Linked DNA regions of Homo sapiens: all the other regions are linked to region 1. The links are contacts of gene promoters, found by promoter capture Hi-C in blood cells and fetal thymus (Javierre and others, 2016). All regions are on one chromosome and are shown on one strand. Each heading gives the region's core, a stretch centred on a gene start or on the middle of the fragment in contact. The rest is flanking DNA. Distances are from core to core; before and after follow the strand shown. Region 1 holds the start of LPIN2 (lipin 2). Region 2 overlaps DLGAP1 (DLG associated protein 1). Region 3 overlaps DLGAP1 (DLG associated protein 1). Region 4 overlaps DLGAP1 (DLG associated protein 1). Region 5 overlaps DLGAP1 (DLG associated protein 1).

Region 1 (2,700 bases), core at 6-2,505:
ACTGTGTGGCCGGCTCTGCCGCTTCTCCCCCGCTTCAGCATCACCTGCCACTTCTTCTCAATCTGAAGCCACTAAGAACGATCAACACCAGACCGTTAAAACATAAACCAGTATGGGCCACTAAATAATTCGTAAATATTTCAAAATGTATTTCAAAACCGACTTTGTATTGTCAAAACATTATAATCTAGCCAGGCCAAGTTTTAATAAACAGTAACACCCATCATCACTACTGGGTAAAGAACTTCATTCAACAGGACCTACCTTGACACCAAGTCTAGAGCCTCGTTTTCAATTAAAAAAAAAATGGGTAAGCCCCAAATGTGCATTAAAAATTAGTTTGGCCATTTACTAAGTAGTCCTTCAAAGCATTTCCAAGTATTCAGAGTTCCAGTACTTTTCGGAAAGGAAGGGTGATCTTTCTGGTACTGGTTTGCATAATTATGCCTAAAAAATGTCATCTTGAATTTTCAATGAAAAGAGTCTTAAAATGTTCAGGCGAGTGGAGAAAATGGTGATCCGCTGGCGTTAGAAGTGGACAGAGAGGCTCTCAGTACAAACTGTATCTGAACGTGTTCCTCACAAATTAAGATCTGCACCGGGGGCTGGGGGGCTTTGAGAAAACTAACCACATTTGAATCCGGTCCACACAGCTTGAAGGCGGAGGTACGGGGCAAAGCGCGGCGGGGAAGAAACACCAGCAACTCGGCGGCCCCCGCCTCGCCGCAGATCACGTGCCCGGCGCCCCCTCCCGCAGGGCCGGGGGCGGGATGGAGACGCGGCCTCCCGCGCGCCTTCCGCACTCCCCTCCGCGCCCCAAACCCAGGGGTAGGGGTGGTCTCGGGTAACCATCCCCAGGGCGGCGGCGAGGGAACTGCGCGGGTTCAGAGTCCTCAGCAGCCACCACTGACGCCCCGACGCCCCCGGCTCCCCGCGCACCCCGCCGGTCCGTCCTGCGGCGGCGGCGGTAGGGGCCGCGTCTACGTGGCGCGGTCGCGGCGAGGCGGGGACTGGGACGCGAGGACCGGGAAGCGGGGACCGCGGCGCGAGGAGGGGCGGCTCAACCCGCGCCGCCCCGGAGGGTCCCGGCCTCCGGCAGGACAGCCCCGGGCCCGCGCCAAGGGAAGCCCCCAGGCGCAGACACTCACCGCCAGCCCCGGAGGGACGCCTGCGAGGAGCCCGGCCCGCGCCCACTTACCCACAGGGGCTCCGCTCCCGGCCAGCGGGCGGCTGAGGGCAGGCGGCGGCTGGACTGCGACGGCTAGGACCCGCCGGGGAGGGAAGCCGAGGGGGCGGGGCCGGTCGGGGGCGCGCGCGGGGTCGGAGCGCCCGCAGCCGCCGCTGCCTTGGAAGCCGCCTGGGCCGCAGCTGAGTCGGGCGGCCCTCATGAATGGGACGCCGCGGCTGCGGCGGCCGAGCCGGCAGCTGGCGGGCGGGCAGCGCGCAGGCCCCGCCCCAGCCACGTGACGCGCGCTCCCGGCCGCGCGCCGCGCCCCCGCCGCCGAGCGCCAGGCGTGCGGCTTCTCACCGCTCCCAGTCCCTGGGCTGCGCGCCCGGGCCCCTGGCCAAGTGAGGGCGGGGCCTCGATTTTCTAGTGCCTCGGGCGACAGGAGCCTTACTTTGTTTTAAAAAAAAAAAGTTTCTTCCGGTCCCCATGGCAACCCTGCGGCAGGTCACGTGGGACTGAGAGCCCAATTGCCAAAAAGGAATGTTAAAGTGCAAAAAAAGTCTAGGGAATGAATGTTTTATAATCCCCTTTTGATCACTAGTAGCACATCTCCTTTGCTTACTTACATCTCCACCGAAAAAAAAAAAATCCTATTACACAACTCATTTTTAAAAATATGCCGGGGTTCTGTTGTTTTTTGTTTATTCTTTTTATCGCTCTGTTACCCCGGCTGGTCTCCAACTCCTGGGCTCAAGCATCCCCGCACCTCGGCCTCCCAAAGTACTGGAATTACAGGCATGAGCCACCGTCCCCAGCATTAAAATATACTTTTTAAGAAATGGGTGGCTCACGCCTGTAATCCTAGCACTTTGGAAGGCCGAGGCAGGCGGATCACTTGAGGTCAGGAGTTCAAGACCAGCCTGGCCAACATGGTGAAACCCCCGTCTCTACTAAAAATACAAAAAACCAGCCGGGCGTGGTGGCGCGTGCCTGTAATCCCAGCTTCTCAGGAGGCTGAGGCAGGAGAATCAGTTGAACCCGGGAGGCGGAGATTGCAGTGAGCCGAGATGGCGCTATTGCACTCCAGCCTGGCGACAGAGAGACTCCGTCTCAGAAAGAAAAGAAATGGGGCCCGGCGCGGTGGCTCACGCCGGTAATCCCAGCACTTTGGGAGGCCAAGGCGGGTCGATCGCCTGAGGTCAGGAGTTGGAGACTAGCCTGGCCAACGTGGCAAAACCCCGCCTCTACTAAAAATACAAAAATTAGCCGGGCATGTTGGCTGCAATCCCAGCTACTTAGGAGGCAGAGGCGGTAGAATCACTTGAACCCGGGGGGCGGAGGTTGCAGTGAGCAGAGATTGCGCCACTTCACTCCAGCCTGGGAGCGAAACTCTGTCTCAAAAAAAAAAAAAACAAAAAAAACTGGATTGCTGGTGCTATATACTATTGGTGCACACTGGTTTTTAATTTGCAGCCTATTCTATTACTATTCTATGATTGAAAGTAATGAACAGAAGCCTATGTTACTTCTAT
Region 2 (2,741 bases), core at 242-2,741, 560 kb after region 1:
CCCGAGTAGCTGGGACTACAGGCGCCCGCCACCACGCCCAGCTAATTTTTTGTATCTTTAGTAGAGACGGGGTTTCACCATGTTAGCCAGGATGGTTTCAATCTCCTGACCTCGTGATCTGCCCACCTAGGCCTCCCAAAGTGCTGGGATTACAGGCGTGAGCCACCATGCATGGGCCTTTTTATTTTTCAAAGCTTTCTTTCAAATAGTAACCATTCCTTTGGTTTGTACTTTACTTGGCAGAGACAAGTTTCATTATCTGCAGTTGGACTTATTTCTTCACATAAGCATAAAATATTAATATATATCTGTACACTTGGACAGGTATTAAAGGAAATAAATAAGTCTTAAGAGTATGATCTAAAATAACTAAATTTTCTTTTATTTTTAATTCAAAGAATAGAGAAAGCCATTGCATTTCATATAATGTGAAGATTAAGCTGTTCTTTTCATCTGTTTTGCAAATTGAGTTAAATGATAATATATGGAAATCATAATGTACCATCAGGAAGTAGAGGGGTCAGGGCCTAAAGGTAGTACATGAAACTCATCTGTAGTCAGAATTACTCTTGAGAGACTAAAAGACAATGTAACCAACTGTTGCCAGGGGTCACCTTTGGGGAGTACAGTAGGAATACGAGGTGGGAGTGGGAAAGAAGGGGAAATCTCATATTTTGCTCTATACACTCCTGTACTGTACGAACTCTTTATAATAATCCTGTATACATGAATTACTCACTTTGTAATTATAAGAAAACAAAAAAAATTTATCCTAAAGGTGCCTATGACTTTTAGTTTAGACATACAACTTTGCTCTAAATCCAGAGCAGCCAGTCCCCACAATGCCCCCATCACCCCCAGCACTAGGGTATCAAGAAAAACACCAGATAAAGTACTTGACTTGTTTTGGTGCCATATTATACAGAAATTTATATCTTTAAATATTCTAGAAGCAGAGTGCCACAAGGTGCTCCCATAAGAACATAGGAATCAAGACTGCACACGGATCATGTCCATTTTAGGTCTTTTAACACACATGCTGATTGAAGGAAACAGCACATTTATTTATTATATCAGACAAAGAGCTTTGTTTTGGTGATTTGCTTACTGTCTAGCAGCCTCGAGCCCATCTTCTACATTTAGCTGCTCTTCGACACTGCGGCCAGGACTCCCAAACTACATTTCCTAGGCCTCCTTGTCAGCTGGTTTCCAGCTGTGTTCTAACAAAGGAAGGTGGAAGAAGAGAAGAAACTTCCTTCCTGTTTCCACCTTCTTCTGGCATCACTCTTGCATGTGAAGGTAGCTATGGCTCCACCCTCCAACTCCTTTTTTTTTTTTTTTGAGACGGAGTCTTGCTCTGTCGCCCAGGCTGGAGTGCAGTGGCGCGATCTCGGCTCACTGCAACCTCCGCCTGCAGGGTTCAATCAATTCTCTGTCTCAGCCTCCCGAGTACTTGATATTACAGGTGCCCACCACCATGCCCAACTAATTTTTTTGTATTTTTAGTAGAGACTGGGTTTCACCATCTTGGCCAGGCTGGTATTGAACTCCTGACCTTGTGATCCGCCTGCCTTGACCTCCCAAAGTGCTGGGATTATAGGCATGAGCCAGCGCAGCCAGCTCCAGCTCCTTTTTTTTTTTTTTTGAGATGGAGCTTCGCTCTTGTTGCCCAGGCTGGAGTGCAATGGCGCGATCTTGGCTCACTGCAACCTTCGCCTCCCAGGTTCAAACGATTCTCCTGCCTCAGCCTCCCGAGTAGCTGGAATTACAGGCATGCACCACCATGCCCGGCTAATTTTTTGTATTTTTAGTAGAGATGGCGTTTCTCCATGTTGGTCAGGCTGATCTCGAACTCCCAACCTCAGGTGATCCGCCCACCTTGGCCTCCCAAAGTGCTGGGATTACAGGCGTGAGCCACTACGCCCGGCCTTTTTTTTTTTCTTGAGACGGCGTTTCACTCTTGTTGCCCAGGCTGGAGTGCAATGGCACAATCTCGGCTCACTGCAACCTCCGTCTCCCAGGTTCAAGTGATTCTTCTGCCTCAGCCTCCTAAGTAGGTGAGATTACAGGCATGCACCACCACACCCAGCTAATTTTTTTATTTAGTAGAGATGGGGTTTCACCATGTTGGTCAGGTTGGTCTCAAACTCCTCACCTCAGGTGATCCACCCACCTCGGCCTCCCAAAGTGCAGGGATTACAGGGGTGCGCCACCGTGCCTGGCCCTTCAGCTCCTTTCAACAGCCCATGCACCAGCTGCTCTGCACCACTCTGAAGTCCCAGCACCACGTGACCCTGCCACCTCACAGTCTGAGCACGGGCTACCCCAGGCCTTTCTTCTGAGCTCCTAAACTTCTGGTAACCCCACCTTTTCCTTCTTGTTCCTTTTATTGCTCTCTCAGTCTTCCCATACCTGTGTAACCAATTTTGTGTATTAAACTGTCTCTGTTTAAGAAGTGAGCCTGGTCTGTGATTTCCTGGATGAGATTTTAACCAATTCCATATGACTACACTTTTGTAAATTAAAAACGCTTAGGATGTCAGCCAAAGTAGGATGTTGTGTCTTCTACTATGCGGTGGTATAAAACTATCCAATGAAATTTGTTCAGAAGACGCATGGTAGTTATTTCCCTGAAGAAGCACGATCCTCAATGCATGAAAAAGAGGAGACAGAAAAGAAGGAGGGTTCATCAGAACAAGAATGGAGGATATTGTTCTCTGCCTGGTCCAAGCCTCATCCCC
Region 3 (2,775 bases), core at 207-2,706, 650 kb after region 1:
TAAAGGGAGCCCGGCTCCAACCGCAGAGGCAGCTGGAAGCGCTGAATGGGCACCGGGGGAAGAGAGCCCCGCGGTCAGGCAGAGGACGCAACAGAGTCCTAACAATGTGATCCAGGCTACCCGAGAGCTGGTTAGAATAATCCTTCCTACGCAGAAAGACCCAGGAAACCTTCCAGGAAAGACTAGGCAGCCGCATTGAGAAAAAACGAAAAGTAAATCTTTTGCAAATAATATCACAAAACTTCCAGCTGTGCACAAATACTGAAGGGCAATTTTGATGACAATGCAGGAAGCTTTCAAAGAAAGGATTTTTAAACATATTTTTTCCTTGGCGGAACTCTTTTTAGTAAGGATTTCCACCTTTGCCCCAGGATCCTGCCAATGTTCTTAGTCAAAGCCAGACCCGAGTTTCCTAGGATTCTTCGGTGAAACTGCATTGCCCCCTGGCGTTTGTGTGCTGTCATTACGCCGCACAGATAAAGCCCATGGAACACCTACCAATCCGAGGAAGGATGCAGCTCCTGGTTTCATCTACATGGAGAAACCTCTCTTAAAACACAGGATCAGAGAATGCAGTTCTAAATGGCAAATCTAGACTTGGTTTGACAAGACATGGAATGAAACTTTGAAATTAAAACTCCTTCCTTTTCCATCCTTAGCAGAATCTCCTGAGATGTTCAAGTAGCTCTGGAAAGAAACTGATCAGATTCTAATCTGTCAATTTAAAAAGTTTTTTTTTAAACAATTTTTAAATTTGTTTTAGAGATAGGGTCTTGCTGTGTCATTCAAGCTGCAGTGCAGTGGTGCAATCATAGCTCACTGCAATCTTGAACTCCTAGGCTCAAGGGAGCCTCCTGCCTCAGCCTCCGTAGTAGCTGCAACTACAGGCGCCCACCACTACACCCTGCTAATTTTCTTATTTTTAAATTTTTTTGTTTTGTTTTAGAGATGAGGTCTCACTGTGTTGTCCAGGCTGGTACTCCTGACCTCAAGTGATCCTCCTGCTTTGGCTTCCCAAAGCTCTGGGATTACAGGCCTGAGCCACTGTGCCCGGTTGCTAATTTGTCAATTTTTTTTTTTTTGGGAGTCAGGGTCTCACTCTGTTGCCCAGGCTGGAGTGCAGTGGTGCATCTCAGCTCACTGCAACCTCCACCTCCCAGACTCAAGCGATTCTCTTGCCTCAGCCTTCTGAGTAGCTGAGATTACAGACATGCGCCACCACCACCCAGCTTATTTTTGTACTTTTAGTAGAGGCGGGGTTTTACCATGTTGGCCAGGCTGGTCTCAAACTCCTGACCTCGAACGATCCACCTGCCTCGGCCTCACAGTCAACAAATATTGACTGTGCTGCTTACCATCCATGTGAACTTGGAAAACCCTCTTAACCTTTCTTTGTCTCCTCCACTTACAAAATGAGGCTGATAATAGTAGCATATACCATCTAGTACCTAGTAAACACCCTTTAAGTGTTTGTGAATGATGAGAACTATGTGAGTTTTCCACTCCGGTGGACTAGGGAAGATTAAAAAACATTCTGTGATGTTGAAAGGGCTTGGACTTGGTTCCTGGCCAAGTCTATTAAAACCCCAAAACACAAAGAAATGCTCCAGGTACTGCGGTTTCTACCTGGCCTCAGTGCAAACCTAGAATTAAGTACATCTCTGACACTTCCAGGTCGGTGTGACTGGACCTCTGAGAATATGCTGGGGCCTGAGAGGGTCCATTCTTGTCCACACCAGGGCAGAGTTCCACCCCCAAGGCTAGGCCAGAGCCGGAATGACTCCAGGAGTAAGGCCAAGGGTGGTCTTCCTTGGCCCAGGTTCCTCTAGAATATGCCACTGTGGCATAAAAATGATTTTGAGCTGAAGGCATTTGATAAGAGGCTTATTTCTAAACTCCTTATCTGCCCCAAAGCAGAACCTCCTCCCAAAACTCAATTGTCATAAATCCCTTCCCACAGATTTTTCTGCAACCAGAGAAAGTTGACTCTAATACCAAAGAGAAGCCCACAGCACACCTAAACAGGCATTGTCACAAAACTATCATCTCCCATCTATTCTCCTAAAGGCCCATGATCTTTCTTAAAAGTAATTTATTTTTCCTTAAGTGCCCTTCTCCTCCTCCCCTTCTCTTGTTCAGATGGCACATAAGCCCCAAATTGTAAGTGCCCCCTTGAGGCATATTTTCCTGAGAACTCCCATACATAATGAACAGAAGCCTGTCTTTTCTTTTGCAGCCCCCAAAACACTGAACTTAAGAGGGTAAAGGAACAGTTTTTCCTTCCTTCGTTTCTTCTTTCCTTCCTTCCATGTTTTCTAGAGACAGGGTCTCACACTGTCATCCAGGCTGGAGTGCAGTGGTGTGATCATAGCTCACTGCAGCCTCAAAGTCCTGAGCTCAAGTGATCCTCCCCCCTCAGCCTCCAAGTAGCTAGGACTACAGGCACATGCCACCACACCCAGCTAATTTTTTTAATTTGCAAATTTTTGTAGAGATGGGGGTCTCACTGTGTTGCCCAGGCTGGGGAAAAGTTTTTCATCTTCCGTACCTTCTTCTGTGCCTTTGGCAAAATACTGGACTCCACTGTGCAAAAAAAAATCTCTGCTCAGGCCTTCAAAACAAGCTTCACATCTTGTGCCAAGCTATCCTCAGTCGAAGCAGTGGTGGCAAATAGACGCACCATAAATGAGAAATAGAATGCTTGGCCCAGTGCACTGGCTCACGCATGGAATCCCAGCACTTTGGGAGGCCGAGGCAGGCAGATCACCTAAGGCC
Region 4 (2,700 bases), core at 83-2,582, 620 kb after region 1:
TTCTAGAAAATGTTCGGGTTGTTTGCTATGAGTTTCTTCATAATGTCAAATAATATTTTTAAAAATGTGGATATTGTCCCAACATACACTCCCATAACAGTGCATGAGAATTCCTATTGCTGCTGCATATCTTTGCCAACATTTGATATTGTTACACTTTATAATTTTTTGTGGCCAGGCACAGTGGCTCACACCTACAATCCCAGCACTTTGGGAGGCCAAGACAGGAGTTTGAGACTAGCCTGGGTAACACAGCAAGACGCCATCTCTAAAAAAATAAATAGCTGAGGTGGGAGGATCACTTGAACCTGGGAGGTTGAGGCTGCAATGAGCCATGATTGTGGCACTGCACTCCAGCTTGAGTGACAAAGTGAGGCTCTGTCTACAAACAAATAAATAAAAATAAAAAATAGGCTGGGCGCGGTGGCTCAACCCTGTAATCCCAGCACTTTGGGAGGCTGAGGCGGGCGGATCACGAGGTCAGGAGATCGAGACCATCCTGGCTAACACGCTGAAACCCTGTCTCTACTAAAAATACAAAAAAATTAGCCGGGCGTGTTGGTGGGCGCCTGTAGTCCCAGCTACTCGGGAGGCTGAGGCAGGAGAATGGCGTGAACCCGGGAGGCGGAGCTTGCAGTGAGCCGAGATCGCGCCACCGCACTCCAGCCTGGGCAACAGAGTGAGACTCTGTCTCAAAAAATAAATAAATAAATAAATAAAAATAAATAAAAAATAATGAAATAATTTTTTGCTAACCTGGTAGGTGTGTATTGGTATCTCACTGTGGATTTAATTTACTTATTTTGGATTCCTAATGAGATGAGCACTTTTTGCAGGTTTTGATATTTCGATGTCCCTTTCTTGTGAAGGGCAAAGTTTGAACACAATAGGCAAATGTAGCAATCTTTTTAAAAATTTTCATGCTCTTCATATTTTATTTCAGAAACTTCCCCTACCCCCATATCATTTTGGGAAGCTTTATTGTTTGGCCTTTCACATTTAGGTCTTAAATTCAACTAGAATTGCTTAGGAGGGCTGGAGTATAAAGTTGTAATGGTTAATTTTATGTGTCAACTTGACTGGGCCATGTGGTACCCAGACATTTGGCCAAATATTATTCTGTGTGTGTCTGTGATGGTGCTTCCAAGTGAGAGTATTACATTGGAATCAGTAGACTGAGTACAGCAGATTGCTCTCCCCAGTGTGGTTGGGCCTCATTCAATCAATTGAAGACCGGAATAGAATAAAAAGACTGAATATGAGAGAATTTCTCCTGTCCGACTGGTTAAGTTGGGGCATCGGTTTTTTCCAGCCTTCAGACTTGGCCTGAAACATTGGTCCTCCTTGGGTTGTGAGCCTGCAGGTCCTCAGACTGAAACTATCCATCAGCTCTCCTGGTTCTCAGGCTCCTGGATTCAAGCTGGAAGTACACATCAGGTCTCCTGGGTCCTCAGCTTGATGACTCGAGATCTTGGGAATTCTCGGCCTCTATAACTGTGTGCCCCAATTCCCTATAATAAATCTTTGTCTTTCTCTCTCTCCTGTTGTCTCTGTGTCTCTGAAGAACCCTGGCTAATACAAAGGTATAGTCCAATTTTATTTTATTTTTTTTCCAAATAAATACTCCTCAGTGACAGCACCATCTACTGAATATTGTCCCTTCCCCACTGAATTGCAAAGATGCCTCTCAAGCTTCCATATGAGCACGGGACTATTTCTGTAATCTGTAGTCTGTTCTGTTGGGCTACTGCCCTGTCCTTGTGCTAACACCATGTCTTATTACTATAGGCTAATTATGAATCTTGATGCTCAATAGGGCAAATCCTCTAATTTTGCTGCTTTTCAAGAGTATCTTGGCTGTATGTGGCACTTTGCAAAAACTAAAACACAACAACAACAACAAAATTCAGGTTTTTGGTTGATATTGCATTAAATTTATAGATCAGTTTTAAGTGAATTGACACCTTTCTAATTTGCAGTTTTGAATCTTTTTATTTATTTTTTATTTTTATTTTTTTTATGAGACTGAGTCTCCTTCTGTCGCCCAGGCTGGGGTGCAGTGGTGCAATTTCGGCTCATTGCATCCTCTGCCTGCTGGGTTCAAGCAATTCTCCTGTCTCAGCCTCCCAAGTAGCTGGGACTACAGGCATGTGCCAGCACGCCCAGTTAATTTTTTTTTTTTTTTAAGTAGAGATGGGGTTTCACCATGTTGGTCAGGCTAGCCTTGAACTCCTGACCTCAGGTGATCTGCCCACCTTGGCCTTCCAAAGTGCTGGCATTACAGGTGTGAGCCACCGTGCCTGGCTGACTCTTTTTATATGACTTTAGGAGTTAGTCTAGAAATTCTAATCCACATATTTAACTTACTAATATCTAGACTTAATACCCTTAACCTTTTCTTAGAAAATACAAGGTACTTAAAACACTTTAACTCCTGACTTCTACTGGGTTATATGTATTTTTAATTCTGTCTTTTAAAAAATATTCTGGACAGTTGTGGTGGCTCATGTCTGTAATCTTTGCACTTTGGGAAGCTGAGGCAGGAGGATCACTTGAGCTCCGAGTTCAAGACCAGCCTGGGCAACATAGTGAGACCTTGACTCTACAAATAGTAAAAATATTAGCTAGGCATGGTGGCGTGTGCCTATAGTCCCAGCTACTCGAGAGGCTGAGGCAGGAGAATTGCTTGAGCCTGAGAGG
Region 5 (2,700 bases), core at 77-2,576, 710 kb after region 1:
TTGGCACTCCGTTCCCAAGAGGTGATTTATGTACTTCAAAACAACTGCAGGAGATGGAAGCACATGGTATTCTTCAGATTTTAAATCTTGCTCTGTGCCTGATAGGACTTTTGCATTTTTATGACTTCCTAATATTATAGAGGAATCCTACCTCGAGTGCCCCACAGAAGAAAGGAGAAGTTATAACCAAAAGTCTCCTGCAAATCATCACTGTCAGTTTCCTTCAATGTAACAGCAGACAAGGATAAGTTGCCTCACAAAAGGAGTAGGTTGTGTCATAAATCTTGCTCTTTTTTCTTTCGTCTGAGCCTGCAAGGGTGGAAGTACGCGATGTCTCCAGTTCCACTTGGAGAGATTCAAAGAAGGAAAACTCATTAGCAGAGGGACAAGGAACCAGTCCAGGCAATATCTGAATATTTATTATTTGATTTTATCTTGAATAGAAAAGAAAGGTGCTTTGTTCAGAAAGCTTCTGATTGATATCTGTCCCTTTGACTTCTGAACCTTTGCCTCCCTGCTTTATAACAAGGATCTATTAATTAACTTGGTGCTTGGCAGAAAGAACTGAGCTTTCCCCGAACTCTAAGAATTCTCCAAAAATGGTCATTAATGCTGGGAAGAGGATCAGCATTGTAATCTCATTTTATACATGAAGAAACTGAAGTTCAGATTAACTTCATACTCAAGCAATAAATAATTTGTAGAGCCGGGCACCGAAGGAACAAAGGGCTGTTTACTGAGAGACCTGAGCTTCTTATTCTGACTTTGCCTCCTGTTGGAGGTTCACCACTTTGGGCCTTAGTTTCCTTACCTTTGAATGGGTTTGATGAATTAGATAGGTGCAGCAGACTTTCTCTGTAAAGGGCCACATCATAAATGTATTTGGCTTTGTGGGCCAAAACATTCCTGCAGAGACTACTCTGCAGGAACTATTCAACTCTGCTTTTAAAAGAGGGAACTATTCGCTGAAACTTCTGTTTACAGATAGCAGGTAAACAAATGGGTGTGAGTTATGCCTGATGACAGTTAATTTACAAAAACAGGCAGCAGGTTGGACTTGGTCCATAGGGTATGTTTGCAGACCACTAGACTGGATGATGTAGAAGTTTGTTTATAACTGCTAATATTTGATGACTCAGCTTGTTTTAATAGCAATGCTATTTTCCCTAGGAAAGTCAGCTTGATTATTCAATCGTCTGTGGCTTGTGCAGTTTGTGGAGTACTTAAAGATTTTTCTGCAGCTTTTCCTTTCTTCTTCCATTTTTGAATGCCTGCTGTGTGTATTGCAATTACAAATTATTATCTTAATGTCATTCTGCTTAGGGTTTAGGGTTTGTGTGGGGGGGGAGTGGGGAGCAAGGTGTGTGGGATTGGAGTGTGGAGTGCATGAAGGTGGGTGAGGTGTGGTCTCCTGGGTAGGATGACTGACTTGGAATGAAGACCCAAACCCTTAGGAGAACTTTCTGAATGTTAGTTCTGACCTCAGATGATCAACAGATTAGCTGCTTTTGCTATATTAAGCAAGGCTTGAGCAAGTGTTTCAGAGCTGCCAGGAATGGGGGAGGGTGTAAGGTAGGAAGATGGAAGAATGTGTCTCAACTTAGAGGAAAATATGATTTCTCCTGTTACAAAAATCAAACTGTAAATACTTCTGTTACTGTGGTCCCAAGCTACATCCAAGAGGGTAAGCACTGCTTTCCCATGGGGGACACTGTACCCTAGGTTCTTACTCCCCTTCCTGAACTATGTGAAGGAGAGGAGAACAGTTCAACTCCATCATTGTTTAATAAATTCCTCTAATAAGAGAATTAGAGTATTGGTGGGGCATAGTGGCTCACACCTGTAATCCTAGCACTTTGGGATGTTGAGGTGGGAGGATCACTTGAACTCTGGAGTTTGAGACCAGCCTGAGCAACATAGCAAGTCTTCGTCTCTACCTCTACAAATTGTTTTTTAAAAATTAGCCGGGCACAGTGGCATGTGCCTGTGGTCCCAGCTACTCTAGAGGTTGAGGTGAGAGGATCACTTGGGTCTGGGAGGTTAAGGCTGCAGTGAGCCATAATCACACCACTGCACTGCAGCCTGGGCAACAGAGCAAAATATAGCACACAGGCCAAACTTTAAGAGTAACAGTGTGGCAAATGAACCTATTTACTCTTTATAAAACTTGTATTATTGCTACACAAAGCTTCTTTGGAATTTCAAAGTGAAGAATTTTCTTAAAAGACCAGAGAATCTGTTGGGTGTGGTGGCTCATGCCTGTAATCTCAGAACTTTGGGAGGCCAAGGCGGGTGGATCACTGGAGCCCAGGAGTTTGAGACCAGCCTGGCCAACATGGTGAAACCCCATCTCTACCAAAAATACAAAAAATTATCCGGGTGTGGTGGCATGTGCCTGTAATCCCAGCTACTCAGGAGGCTGAGGTGGGAGGATCACTTGAGGCGGAGGTTGCAGTGAGCCATGATTGCACCATTGCACTCCAGCCTGGGTGACAGAGCAAGATCCCATCTCAAAAAATGAAAAAAAAATTAGCCAGGCGTGGTGATGTGCACCTGTATTCCCAGCTACCTGAGTTCAGGAGGCTGAGGTGGAGGATCGCAGTCCAGGAGCTGGAGGCTGCAGTAAGTTATAATCATACCACTGCACTCCAGCCTAGGTGACACAGGGAAACTCTGTCTCAAAAAAAAAAAAAACCCAAC

Evidence for each region. Contacts are between HindIII fragments. The CHiCAGO score rates a contact against its expected background, and 5 or more counts as called.
Region 2: a contact is called between a fragment that was not itself captured here and the fragment with the promoter of LPIN2 in region 1, in 1 of 17 cell types (naive CD8 T cells). The highest score is 5.2, in naive CD8 T cells.
Region 3: a fragment that was not itself captured here is called in contact with the fragment with the promoter of LPIN2 in region 1 in 9 of 17 cell types (total B cells, naive CD8 T cells, naive B cells and 6 more); the score reaches 15.7 in total B cells.
Region 4: a fragment that was not itself captured here is called in contact with the fragment with the promoter of LPIN2 in region 1 in 2 of 17 cell types (activated CD4 T cells and total B cells); the score reaches 6.1 in activated CD4 T cells.
Region 5: a fragment that was not itself captured here is called in contact with the fragment with the promoter of LPIN2 in region 1 in 1 of 17 cell types (monocytes); the score reaches 6.8 in monocytes.

What each region holds. Positions count from the first base shown.
Region 1 is chr18:3,011,889-3,014,588 of GRCh38, forward strand. It overlaps LPIN2 (lipin 2), which reads right to left and starts at 1,256. Exons shown (of 20, transcript NM_001375808.2): 1 at 1,199-1,256. RefSeq lists a silencer at 697-1,646. The HindIII fragment of the contact is 8,581 bases long and covers 1-2,700 here.
Region 2 is chr18:3,574,937-3,577,677 of GRCh38, forward strand. The region is part of intron 8 of DLGAP1 (DLG associated protein 1); the gene reads right to left. Among named protein-coding and RNA genes, the nearest start is that of DLGAP1-AS1, 18 kb to the right of the region's middle. RefSeq lists enhancers at 1,031-1,532, 1,533-2,032. The HindIII fragment of the contact is 2,599 bases long and covers 193-2,741 here.
Region 3 is chr18:3,666,013-3,668,787 of GRCh38, forward strand. All of the region lies in intron 7 of DLGAP1 (DLG associated protein 1), which reads right to left. Among named protein-coding and RNA genes, the nearest start is that of DLGAP1-AS6, 14 kb to the left of the region's middle. RefSeq lists a silencer at 1-51. The HindIII fragment of the contact is 2,330 bases long and covers 292-2,621 here.
Region 4 is chr18:3,628,978-3,631,677 of GRCh38, forward strand. All of the region lies in intron 7 of DLGAP1 (DLG associated protein 1), which reads right to left. Among named protein-coding and RNA genes, the nearest start is that of DLGAP1-AS6, 23 kb to the right of the region's middle. The HindIII fragment of the contact is 716 bases long and covers 975-1,690 here.
Region 5 is chr18:3,722,225-3,724,924 of GRCh38, forward strand. All of the region lies in intron 7 of DLGAP1 (DLG associated protein 1), which reads right to left. Among named protein-coding and RNA genes, the nearest start is that of DLGAP1-AS6, 71 kb to the left of the region's middle. The HindIII fragment of the contact is 1,719 bases long and covers 468-2,186 here.